3 separate regions of the Homo sapiens genome follow, and all the other regions are linked to region 1. The links are contacts of gene promoters, found by promoter capture Hi-C in blood cells and fetal thymus (Javierre and others, 2016). All regions are on one chromosome and are shown on one strand. Each heading gives the region's core, a stretch centred on a gene start or on the middle of the fragment in contact. The rest is flanking DNA. Distances are from core to core; before and after follow the strand shown.

Region 1 (4,026 bases), core at 418-2,917:
GTTAAGAAGTGACTGAGTGGGGAGAATGTAGTCTGGATTTGGGATAAATTTAGGATAGAAAGGGATTGAGCCCCTATTAAAGGCTAGTGAGTGCGCCAGTCACTTTAGCACTGCTTTCTAATGTCATCCAAACAAAACTCTAAAAGGAATGTGTTGTTATTCACCATCAAAGAAGAAACTCAGATCTGGAGACATGGTGTGACTCCAGGAGCCTATCTTCTTTTCGATCAACTCCATTGCCCTACAGAGGGGAAGAGGGATAAATGCAATAGACATTGACTGAAGATTTTACTGCATATGGTCAAGAACTGCACTAAACATTTACATGGATTGCACACTGAAACTTCAGTTTAAATGCTAATTTCACTATTAATAGTGTGGTTATCTGGCCTGAGGCCAGAAATCAGACTCCCTGAATTTGGATCTCAGTTCTGTCACTTACTATGTATCCTTTTGCCTCAGTTTCCTCATCTGTAAAATGGGTTTTGCTGTGAAAATTATTTGGTAATATACTTGAAATATAAATAACAAGGCATGTCTAGAGCATAAGTGTGGAGAAAAATGTTAGCTCACAGTTGTTTTTTGTTTGTTTGTTTGTTTTTTGTTTTGAGACAAAGTTTGCTCTGTCACCCAGTCTGGAGTGCAGTGGCACAATCTCGGCTCACTGCAACCTCCATCTCCTGGATTCAAGCCATTCTCTTGCCGCAGCCTTCCCAGTAGCTGGGATTACATGTGCGCACCACCACGCCCAGCTAATTTTTGTATTTTTAGTAGAGATGAGGTTTCACCATGTTGGCAAGGCTGGTCTCGAACTCCTGACTTCGTGATCCACCCGCTTTGGCCTTCCAAAGTGCTGGGATTACAGGCCTGAGCCACTGCGCCAGGCTGCTCATAGTTTAATCTCCATTGTACAGCCATGACAAGAGAGAATTAGGAAGACAAAGCTAGCGACTCTTACATTCTGTTCCGGACTCCGGGATCTTCCACACACCCTTGTTTTTAGCCACCACTGCACCATCCTGCTGGGAAACCTTTTGGGGACCTGTAGGAAGGAAACCTTTGGGGGAAGCTGTAGGTGGGGTTGTGGTGTGTTTGCTTGTTTTCTTATTTGTTTTTAACATGATATTGACTCGCACATATTTCTCACCTCGAGAGAAGATGATGCGGGAGAGAGGGGCGTTATGATGGGTATGCTCTCAGAAAGACAGGAAGCTATGATGACGGGCTGCAGGTGCAGGGGCCCGCAGTGTCCGTCAGAAGAGGCTCGGGAAAGTAAGCGAGAATGGTGTTCACGTTGTGACTTTGTTTGGAATCATAAGACCGAAAAGCCAGGAAGAAGTTCTGTTTTCCTCTGCCCTCTTGCTAGCCACCACACAGCCACTGTTCTTGGAGAATTAAAAAAAAAAACAAACAAAAACAAAACAAAACAAAACAAAAAAACCGTCCCTCCTACCATTTCTTTAGTCCTGAATCTCCTTTTCCCTTCCTCTCCCCAGCCATCCCCACCCCTACTTCCTCTTCTCTCCCTCCCGCTGCCAGTTCTCTGGTTACTCCCCCCCTCCCTTGCTTCTATCCCAGCCTGGTGCAAGCTAAGAGGGCGAGGACGAGGGAGTGGGAGAGATTGGCTGAGGACTCTACAGATCAGCTAGAGAGCGAAAGAACTAAGTCTCTCTCTCTCATACACACACACACACGCACACACGCGCGCGCGCGCGCGCACACACACACACACGTACACTAAAAAACTCGGACCAGCCGCGCCGCAGCTGCTCCAATCCCTGGAAAAGGCAATCGAGCGCCCTCCGGACCGCTGCGCACAGCCCCGGCTCCGACCTGGCGCCCAAAACAGAGCTAGTCCTAGTCCCTCGCGCGGCCAGTTTGGCCGGGTGTTCCCAAAAATAAAGCGAGGAGGGAAGGTACAGACAGATCTTGAAAACACCCGGGCCACACACGCCGCGACCTACAGCTCTTTCTCAGCGTTGGAGTGGAGACGGCGCCCGCAGCGCCCTGCGCGGGTGAGGTCCGCGCAGCTGCTGGGGAAGAGCCCACCTGTCAGGCTGCGCTGGGTCAGCGCAGCAAGTGGGGCTGGCCGCTATCTCGCTGCACCCGGCCGCGTCCCGGGCTCCGTGCGCCCTCGCCCCAGCTGGTTTGGAGTTCAACCCTCGGCTCCGCCGCCGGCTCCTTGCGCCTTCGGAGTGTCCCGCAGCGACGCCGGGAGCCGACGCGCCGCGCGGGTACCTAGCCATGGCTGGGGCGAGCAGGCTGCTCTTTCTGTGGCTGGGCTGCTTCTGCGTGAGCCTGGCGCAGGGAGAGAGACCGAAGCCACCTTTCCCGGAGCTCCGCAAAGCTGTGCCAGGTGACCGCACGGCAGGTGGTGGCCCGGACTCCGAGCTGCAGCCGCAAGACAAGGTCTCTGAACACATGCTGCGGCTCTATGACAGGTACAGCACGGTCCAGGCGGCCCGGACACCGGGCTCCCTGGAGGGAGGCTCGCAGCCCTGGCGCCCTCGGCTCCTGCGCGAAGGCAACACGGTTCGCAGCTTTCGGGCGGCAGCAGCAGGTGAGTGCGCGAGGTGAGACTCCCTTCCCGCGGTCCCGCCCCAGCTTTCTCCCGGGACCCCCCACAGCTTCCTTGTCTGCCCCTTGCTTGGTGGCGCTGCCTAGGGACCTTTCTCCGCCCTCCTCAGCTGCCCTCTGGATTCCTCCGTCCAGTCACACCCCGCGTGTCGCCAGCTGCATCTCCTGTAAGCCCAGTTTTCAAATCCAAAGTGAGAGGGGGAAATAGAATGAAGGCGCGGAGCAGTGGAGGGGTAGGCTGGAGGAGCTTCGTGGAAAAAGGGAAGGGGCGACACCCCATGCCTGTGAGGCCTCCTGCCCTGAGTGACTGGAGCACCTCTAGGGTACCTTATTCTGTTGATTCCTAAATCGGCCAGCGGAAATTCCTTTGGACTGGGCTTTAGCCATGTTTACTAAGAGGCAGATGCCATTTTATGCCAATGCCAGGACCCGAGAGAAATCATACTTGAATAAGACGCCTTCCCCTCTCCTTTTCTCCTTCCCCAGTCGCTTCTCCAGATATTGCACCCGCTCCTAATTCGCGCCCTTTGTGTTACTGTACTATATTTGACACTTTACTTGATAGTTCCTTAGTGGCAAAAAAAAAAAAAAAAAAAAAAAAAACAGGTGCTTGGGTGTTTCGATTATTAAAACGCATCTGGGTAAACAGGGGTTGTACCATCCATCCTGGGAGGAGCTGGGAGACAAGGGGAGGGAGCAACCCTGGATGTAAACACCTCTTGGAATCTGCCCAAGAAAATCTGCTCATCCCATTTTTCAGCACAGATCACTTCGGACTGAAATTCATGGCTTAACAAGGTTTCTCCTAGCCCCTGTGGTGAAGGGAATAACTTATGCTAACAGCCTCCCTCCCTTGTGTTAACAGCTTGAGGGAAAGCTTCCTGGACACTAACTCTGTTTTTATGCTTTGAGGATTCACCAGGCTTTTTTGTTCACTACATTCATGATAAGGGGAAATGTAACTGCAAAGCCTGTCTTCAGTGAACAGTTGAACAATAGCCAAGAATCTTCAAGAAAATGAGGCCATGCCTCAGTCAATACTGTCAGAATCACTAGAAAGAAATCTCCCAAAGTTTTGATATGCAAGACTCCTGGAAAAAGGGAAAACTAAGGCATTCATCAAGGAAAGCCCTGCATTGTCTGTGTAAATATATTCTAGAGCTTACAGGCATGATGACATTTACAATAGATGTGAATTATGCTTCCTAATACAGAAGTCTTTAGCTAGAGACTGAACTGAACCAGATTTTACTTTCTTCTTAAAACCATGAGCATGATCTGTGAGGAGAGCGCCACCAGTAAGGAAAAAGAAACCTGCTCTGTGTTATCCACAGTATCCTAGCCATTGGAGGAGGCTGTCCTGACAGCTGACTACACCAGTGAATACTCTGTTTACTTTAGTGCAACTCTAGGGGCATAACTCAGTGAGTAACTCATGTGGGAGTTGCA
Region 2 (4,026 bases), core at 500-2,999, 2.1 Mb before region 1:
TATTTTGAGGTCATTGTAGACTCATATACAATTTTAAGAAATGACAGAGATCCCTTGTACCCTTTACTCAGTTTCCTCCAATAATAACATCTTGAAAAGCTATAGCACAATATTACAACCATGATATTGACACTGATAACAGTCAAGGTGCAGTATCATTCGCCACAAAGATCCATTACCACAAAGATCCCTTATGTTGTGGATTCAGCCACACATACTTTCTCCTGCCCACCCATTCCTTAACCCCTGATACCACTAATTTGTTCATTTCTATGATTTTGTTGTTTTGATAATGTTATATAAATGAAATCACACAGTATGTAACCTTTTGGGATTGGATATATCGCAGTTTGTTCAATCATTTACCTGTTGAAGGACATCTGGGTTGTTTCCAGATTTGGGTTATTATACAGGTTTTTGTGAAAATCGAATTTTTCTTATCTCTGGGATAAATTCCCCAAAGTGCAATTGCTGGGTCACGGTCAGATGGTAGTTTCATGCTAGGGTTTACGATAAATACCCAACAGTTTTACAATAAATTTTCTATAAATAAAGAAGTGAACAAATAATGTTATACCAAAATCTTTAGAATGAAGATTGGGCTTGAATAAATGTATTTTTACCATCTGCACAGACAATCCTATTAACTACAAAAATGACATTCTAAATATTCTGAAACATAATACAAAGCAGAAATCAATAAAGCTTAAATGTGAGGGATAAGCTTATTCATTACTCTAGGAGTCAGGGTTTTTTAGCCTAAAATGTATTTATAGTAATAGTGAAGTCTGATTCACCAGAAATGATGTACAGACATTACACTATAATATTTAATCTCCAAATGGCTACACTTTGAAAATTAGATCTAAAACCCCCACAAATGATAAACATAACTTGATAATCAGTAATGTATATTAAATAAGTAACCACATGCTCTTTAAAGATGTTTTCCTGTTTTTATGGTGGTCCATTACAGTGTTCCATTTCAGGGTGCTCCATCAGAGTTCTTGCCTTGGGTTACATCATCTCATCCCAATGCCAAGCCCATCTTTTCATTTGAAACTCACAGCCAGCACTTACAATAAGGGTCTTCATGTATCATAGAAGGAACATGTGCTAGACCCAGATGGACGTGAGGCTGAATCTGAACAATATAACTTACTGGCAAGTTATAGAATTTCTCTTGGTCTTGATTTTCTCATCTATTAGATGAGGATAAGTCTAAACAACCTAAATAACTTGACAGGGCTTAAAGTCACACGAAATAACATATACAAAGTACCTGGCACTGAAAAAGCATCAATAATATTCAATTCCCTTCACCTATGGCATTTTAAATTTTCCGAGGAATAAATTCCAATGTTTATTTATAAATGTTGCCCAAATTTGTAGTGGGTTGTTACAGATCATTCTTATCCAGGAGATTTGAACGTGTAAATTTAACAACCCAATCATATCCAAGGAAATATTCAAAGGCAGTTGATGCAGTTTCCACAGGGCCTTCTTAAAATTAGAGATAGATATTAAAATAAAGAAAAAAAACTATGCCTCATTGAAAAAGTTTACATTTTGGGATACAAACCCTATCTTCTTATTACTTGTTTTCTTATATTTTCTTCGGTATGAATATATACACTCCAGTTCAAGAAAATGAAGGGATTTTTTCTTAATTTGGGCTGATGTATTTTTATTTTTAATAAATGCTGTCAGAAACAGGACCACCATTTGCAGAGCCCAGAATTAAACAAACACCATCTTGCAGAATGGTTAAGAAAATGCATCAGGAACCACTAATAGTAGAAATCACCTCTTATAACAGACAGGAGTAGTAGCTTGCAATAATCTCATATCTGATTTGAACTTATAAAATTGAGGAAGTTCAGTGGTGGCTTCATCATCTATTTGCAGTGTAAAATTTAGGAAAATATGCATAAAAGATGAAAAATGCAAGTTAACATAATGTTTCATTTTTCAGTGGTGTTTTGAATTATTATTGGGAGCCTGTTTGTATCAGAGAAAAGAATGAGAAGAGACATTTATCAAGAATTTAAAGGAGCTACTCTATAGTAAAAGATGATTGGGTACATCTTCAATAGAATTCTTTAACTCTATTGTGGCAAATTGAGAAATAGGTTGAAATAATGGCGTAAAACCAAAAAAATCAAGGTTGGCTCTGCTCTTTGGAGTACCAGGTACCACATACACCACAAGGCCCTGCCTAACTCAGAAGATCATCTCCATTAGTCCAACACAGAGACCTAAATGATTGTTGTGTCTTCAGAAATACCTCATGAAAAAGTGTTCAAATTACTTTGGTGATGAGATCAATTAGCATTTGTCGTGAAATCATTTACCAGATTAGCTAGTCACTACCTAGGTTAGAACCCTGAGAAAATAAAGCACAGGCAGTTTAGTTTTGTTGAGAGTAAGGGGGATTGTGGGAAGTTCCTAGCATGAAGTATTTATAAGGAAGAAGGAAGGAGGAGCTGAAAAAGGAGGTGGGAGACAGGGAAAAGGAAGCAGGAGCATCCTGGAGTCTTAGAGGATCAACTGGCTGTAAACTTTTGAAAGACAGGAAATATGGTGGGTTCACCATTGTATGCAGGTTAAATATCACAGCACCTGGGACATAGCAGGTGCACAAAAAAATATTTATTGAACAGATGAAAGAACGTATGTTCTAAAATGAGGGCTGGTATCGATTCTGAAAGGGGCGGAAGGAGAGCATTCCAAAGTAAATTTATGTAACAAAGTTTTCCTGGCCCTGGCCCTGCTGAAGCTTGTAGAGCCATGGGTATGAATATAAGAGGCTGTGGAATTTCCTTCTGTAAGATCTTTAAAAATGGTATAGATTCTTACATATCTGGAGGGGTTCCTATGAAAACCAGGAGAATGATCTGAATAATCTGAATAGCCTCTGGTTCTTTCTTCCTTGGGCTTTTGATTTGTTTTTGTTTTTCAATTTCAAGAGATGCAATGCAAAATTATATATTGCCATAATTACTACCATGCAAATAACAATAATAATTTATTGAGTTTACTGTATGCCAGACAACTTGCTGAGTGTGGAATCTCCACTAATGAATTGTCTCATTTTTATTAACTCTGAGGATTTTGTCAGTTATTATACAGTCCTCCTGCAGATGGCACTCTTCTCCTGCAGAATTGTCACCTCTTGCGCTCTGGACTTGAGCCTTACACTGAGATAGGGATGAGAAATGAGTGATTTTAAGGTTGGTACACTATGATTAAAAAAAAAATTATCTATATATGATTTGAAATTCCTAAATATGAATAATCCAGCCCATTAGAAATTTAAAGAGTTTTTAAAATACGAAACTTAAGTTCACAAAATTTTTCAATGGCTTTGCAGCTTTGTCTTTATCTTTATCATAACGGAACATAATTTGCTGTTCTATTTTCCTCAGGAAAACTAAACAAAGAATGTTTTTTGACAGGCAAGCTTCAGCTCAGAAGATGGATAAATAGCTCTTCCCCTCCCCTATGCTTCACTTTGAACTTCCCTCTCTACCTAATCTCTGGCTCATCTTTCCTCTTTTGGAGGGCCCAGGGTGATTGAGCCTGTCGAGATGAATAGCTGGTGAAATCTGACTGGTTCCTGGGTGGGCCACTGTTCATCAGGCTCACCTGGTCCAGCTGGGACTCAGCTTTTCCTTCCACAGTGTGGCCACAGCTAGCGCTGAGTACAGGCCTTCGGAAACCTGCAGGTATAGATGGGTAAAGCAGAATTAACAACATGCCCAGAAATAGCAATTTCGTTATTACTATTCCACGGTATTTACAAAGACACTGTTTTGTGCTTGCATAGCTTTCTTTATGCTTCTGGGCAAATGTGTAAAACATTTTTAGCTCTTATGTGGCTCCGGCAAGTCAATATGTCACCTCCAGTGATAGCATCTAGTTGTCTGGCACACATGTGAAACATTTAGAATTATATAGCTCAGAGCTCTGGAATTGGTATTACCTATTTTATCAGATGCCTGTGTATAGCGCTATAAGGCACTG
Region 3 (4,026 bases), core at 987-3,486, 2.1 Mb before region 1:
GACTGTATTACTTTACTACGACTGCTATAACAAAATACCACAGACTGAGTGGCTTAAACATACAGAAATGTATTTATTCACATTTCTGGAAGCTAAAATTCAGTTGAAGGTATCAGCAGGATTGAGTTCTTCTGAGGCCTCTCTCCTGGGCTTGCAGATGGTCACTTTCTTGCTATGTCCCTACATGGTCATCCTGTGGTCTGTGTCTTAATCTTCTCTTCTCTTCCAAAACAACAACAACAACAAAATTCCAGTTTTATTGGATAAGGGCCCACCAGTATGACCTTATTTTACCTCAGTTCTCTCTTGAAAGGTCTTATCTCGAAATATAGTAACAATCTGATGTAACGGTGGGTAAGACTTCAACATATGAATTTTGGAGGATACAATTAAGTTCATAACATTGACCTACCATAAAATGCACATAAAGGGTACAGTGTGATGTTCTGAGATATACATACATCTACAAAACTATCACAGTCAAGATAATGAATATGTCCATTGTCCTTTCATATTTTCCATGGCCTCTTTGTCATCCCTTCCTTTAGCCTTTCCCTACCTTCCTCAATTCCTATGCAATCATTAATCTGCTTTTGATCACTGTATATTAGTTTGTATTTTCTAGAATGTAATACACATGGAATCATATAGATTATACTCATTTTGTTATTCAGCCTAATTATTTTGAGGCTCAGCTATAATGTAGCACATACCAATAACTTACTCATTTTTGTTGCTGAGTAATATTCCATTGTATGGGTGTGCCATAGTTTCTTTATCCATTCATCTGTTTATGCACATTTGGGTTCTTTCTAGTTTGGGCCATTAAAAATAAAGCTGCTATGTACATTTGTGTACAGGTCTTATGTGGACATATTCTTTTATTTCTCTTGGGTAAATACCCAATAGTAAAATGGCTGGATTTTGTGGTAACCTTAAAAAAAAGTCTACTGTTTTTCAAAGTAGTTGTAGTATTTTATGATTTAATTTAATTTACAAATCTATATCTTAAATGACAAATAAAAATTGCATACATTTATGGTATACAATGTGATGTTTTGATATATGTATAGATTGTGGAATTATTACATCAAGCTTGTTAACATATCTATCACCTCACATGCTTATTTTTTTGTGGTAAGAACAGTTAAAATCTCTTTCCGCAATTTCAAGTTTAGATTATTATTAACTGTAGTCTCCATGTTGTGTAATCATTCTCCAAAATTTATTTCTCCTGTCTAACTGAAACTTTTTACTCTTTGACCAACATCTCCACATTGTCCCCACATTCACAAGCCCCTGGTAACCATCTTTCAATTCTCTGCTTCTATGAGTTCAACTCTTTTAGATTCCACATAAAAGTAAGATCATACAGTATTTGTCTTTCTGTGCATGGCTTATTACACTCAGCATAATATCCTCCAGATTTATCTATGTTGTCACAAATGATTAGATTTCATTTTTTATGGCTGAATGGCTGAATACTATTCCATTGTGTATATATACTACATTTTATTTATTCCCATTAATAGACACTTAGGTGGATTCCATGTCTTGAAATTGTGAATAATCTGCAATGAACATAGAAGTACAGATATCTCACTGACTTACTGATTTCATTTCCTTTGGATAAATACCCAGAAGTAGGATTGCTGGATCATATGGTTGTTTTATTTTTAATTTGTTGATTAACATCTATGCTGTTTCCTCCAATGACCATGGGTTATACTATTTTATAATTCTGCCATCAAGTGTATGAGAGTTCCAGTTCTCCTATATCTTTACCAATGCTTGGTATGGTCAATTTCTACTTATTTGTTTGTTTATTGATATTTAAAATTTTATCCATTTACCCAGGTATGAAGGGGCATCTCATTGTGGTTCCAATTTCCATTTCCATAATGACTAATGATGTTGAGACTCTTTTCATGTGTTTATTTGCCACTCATTATCTTTTTTGCTGAAGTGTCTGTTCAAATCTTTTGTCCTTTAAAACATTGGGTTATTTCTTTTGAATACAGTGATTCAATTTATTTTGAATCATTATGTATTCTGGATACTAGTTTTTTAAAAAATTATAGAAATCATTTGGAAATATATTCTTCCATCCTGTGGCTTATTTTCTTATTCTATTAGCAGTATCTTTTGAAGAACAGTACATTTAATTTTGATAAGGTCCAATTTGTCAGTTTGTTCTTTCGTAGATTATTTTTGTTATATCTGAAAAATCTGCCTATCATAAGGTCACAAAAGTTATTCTCCTATTTTAAAAAGAAGTTTTGTCATTTTATTTTCAGTTAAGTCAATGATTCATTTTAAGTTAATTTTTGCATGTGGCAAAATAAATAGATATATTAAGGGGCAGATTCAAGTTTCTTTTTTGCATGTGGATATCCAGTTGCTCCAGCATTGTTTTTGAAAAGACTATCCTTTCTTTCTCTATTAGATTTTCTTTGCATCCTTGTGGAAAACATTTGCTCATGTATGTGTGGGGGTGTCTTTCTTTCTTTCTTTCCTTTCTTTCTTTTCTTTTTTTTTTTTTTTTTTTGAGACAGAGTCTCTCCCTGTCACCCAGGCTGGAGTGCAGTGGCACAATCTTGGCTCACTGCAGCCTCCGCCTCCGGGGTTCAAGTGATTCTCCTCCCTCAGCTTCCTGAGTAGCTGAGATTACAGGCATGTGTCACCATGCCTGGCTAATTTTTCTTTTTTTGTATTTTTAGTAAAGATGGGGTTTCACCATTGGCCAGGCTGGTCTTGAACTCCTGACCTCAGATGATCCTCCCACCTCGGCCTCCCAAAGTGCTGGGATTACAGGCATGAGACACCTTGCCTGGCCAGGTCTGTTTCTTCATTGATCTACTGGTGTATGTTACAAGTACTACATTTATTTGATTACTTACAAGAAGTCTTGAATCAAATAGCGTTAACCCCCCAACTTGTTTGTTCTTTTTTAAAGTTGCTATTGTTTCTTGCCACTGAGCTAAAAAATAGTTGCTGTTGACTATTTTAGGTTCTTTGCATTTTCATATGTGTTTTGTCAATTTCTACAAAAGTCCTCCTGGGATTTTGATTGGAATTTGCTGGAATCTGTAGAATAATTTGGGAAGAAATGACATCTTTAAAATATTGAGTAATATTTTATATATTACTGGCTAATTAATATATCTATTTATTTTGTTTTTTCTTTATTTTTTCTCAACAATGTTTTAAGATTTCTGTTTATAGGTTTTCCACATCTTTTATGTACATTATCCCTATTTTATATATTTTTATGTTATCATTAGCGACATTTAAAACATTCAATTTCCAATAACTTGTTGCTAGTATATAGAAATTCAGTTGATTTTATATGCCAATCTTGTATCCCGAAATCTTGCTAAGCTTACTTATTAGTACAAGTAGCTTTGATTCTCGATTCCATCACATTTCTATACAAATGATCATATTGTCTGTGAATAAAGACAGTTTTATTTCTTCTTTTCTGATTTCTGTGCTTATTTATTTTTCTTTTCTTTTTTTATTGTACTAGCTGAAACTTCCAGGACAAAGTTGAATAGAAGTGTTGAGAGTAAAAATTCTTGTCTTGTTCTGGTCTTTTATCTTTCAGTATAATACATTTTCATAGGTGCTTTTTTTTGGTTGAGAAAATTCTCTTCAGTTTCTTTTTCACTGAGTCGTTTTATGAGGAATGGATGTTGGATTTTGCCAAATGGTTTGTTGTGCCTATTTTATGTGCCTATTATGTACATGTTGAATAATTTCTTTTTTCTTTTTTTTTTTTTTTTGAGACGGAGTCTCGTTCTGTCACCCAGGCTGGAGTGCAGTGGCATTATCTAGGCTCACTGCACACTCCACCTCCTGGGTTCATGCCATTCTCCTGCCTCAGCCTCCCGAGTAGCTGGGACTACAGGCGCCTGCCACCAGGCCTGGCTAATTTTTTGTATTTTTAGTAGAGATGGGGTTTCACCATGTTAGCCAGGATGGTCTCGAAATCCTGACCTTGTGATCCGCCTGCCTCAGCCTCCC

What was found. Contacts are between HindIII fragments. The CHiCAGO score rates a contact against its expected background, and 5 or more counts as called.
Region 2: a contact is called between a fragment that was not itself captured here and the fragment with the promoter of BMP3 in region 1, in 3 of 17 cell types (M2 macrophages, M1 macrophages and total CD4 T cells). The highest score is 7.4, in M2 macrophages.
Region 3: a contact is called between a fragment that was not itself captured here and the fragment with the promoter of BMP3 in region 1, in 1 of 17 cell types (M2 macrophages). The highest score is 7.4, in M2 macrophages.

What each region holds. Positions count from the first base shown.
Region 1 is chr4:81,029,041-81,033,066 of GRCh38, forward strand. BMP3 (bone morphogenetic protein 3) reads left to right here and starts at 1,668. Exons shown (of 3, transcript NM_001201.5): 1 at 1,668-2,560. The coding sequence starts at 2,245. The HindIII fragment of the contact is 6,285 bases long and covers 1-3,452 here.
Region 2 is chr4:78,948,917-78,952,942 of GRCh38, forward strand. No RefSeq gene overlaps it. Among named protein-coding and RNA genes, the nearest start is that of PAQR3, 11 kb to the left of the region's middle. The HindIII fragment of the contact is 2,055 bases long and covers 723-2,777 here.
Region 3 is chr4:78,966,187-78,970,212 of GRCh38, forward strand. No RefSeq gene overlaps it. Among named protein-coding and RNA genes, the nearest start is that of LINC01088, 3.5 kb to the right of the region's middle. The HindIII fragment of the contact is 2,286 bases long and covers 1,094-3,379 here.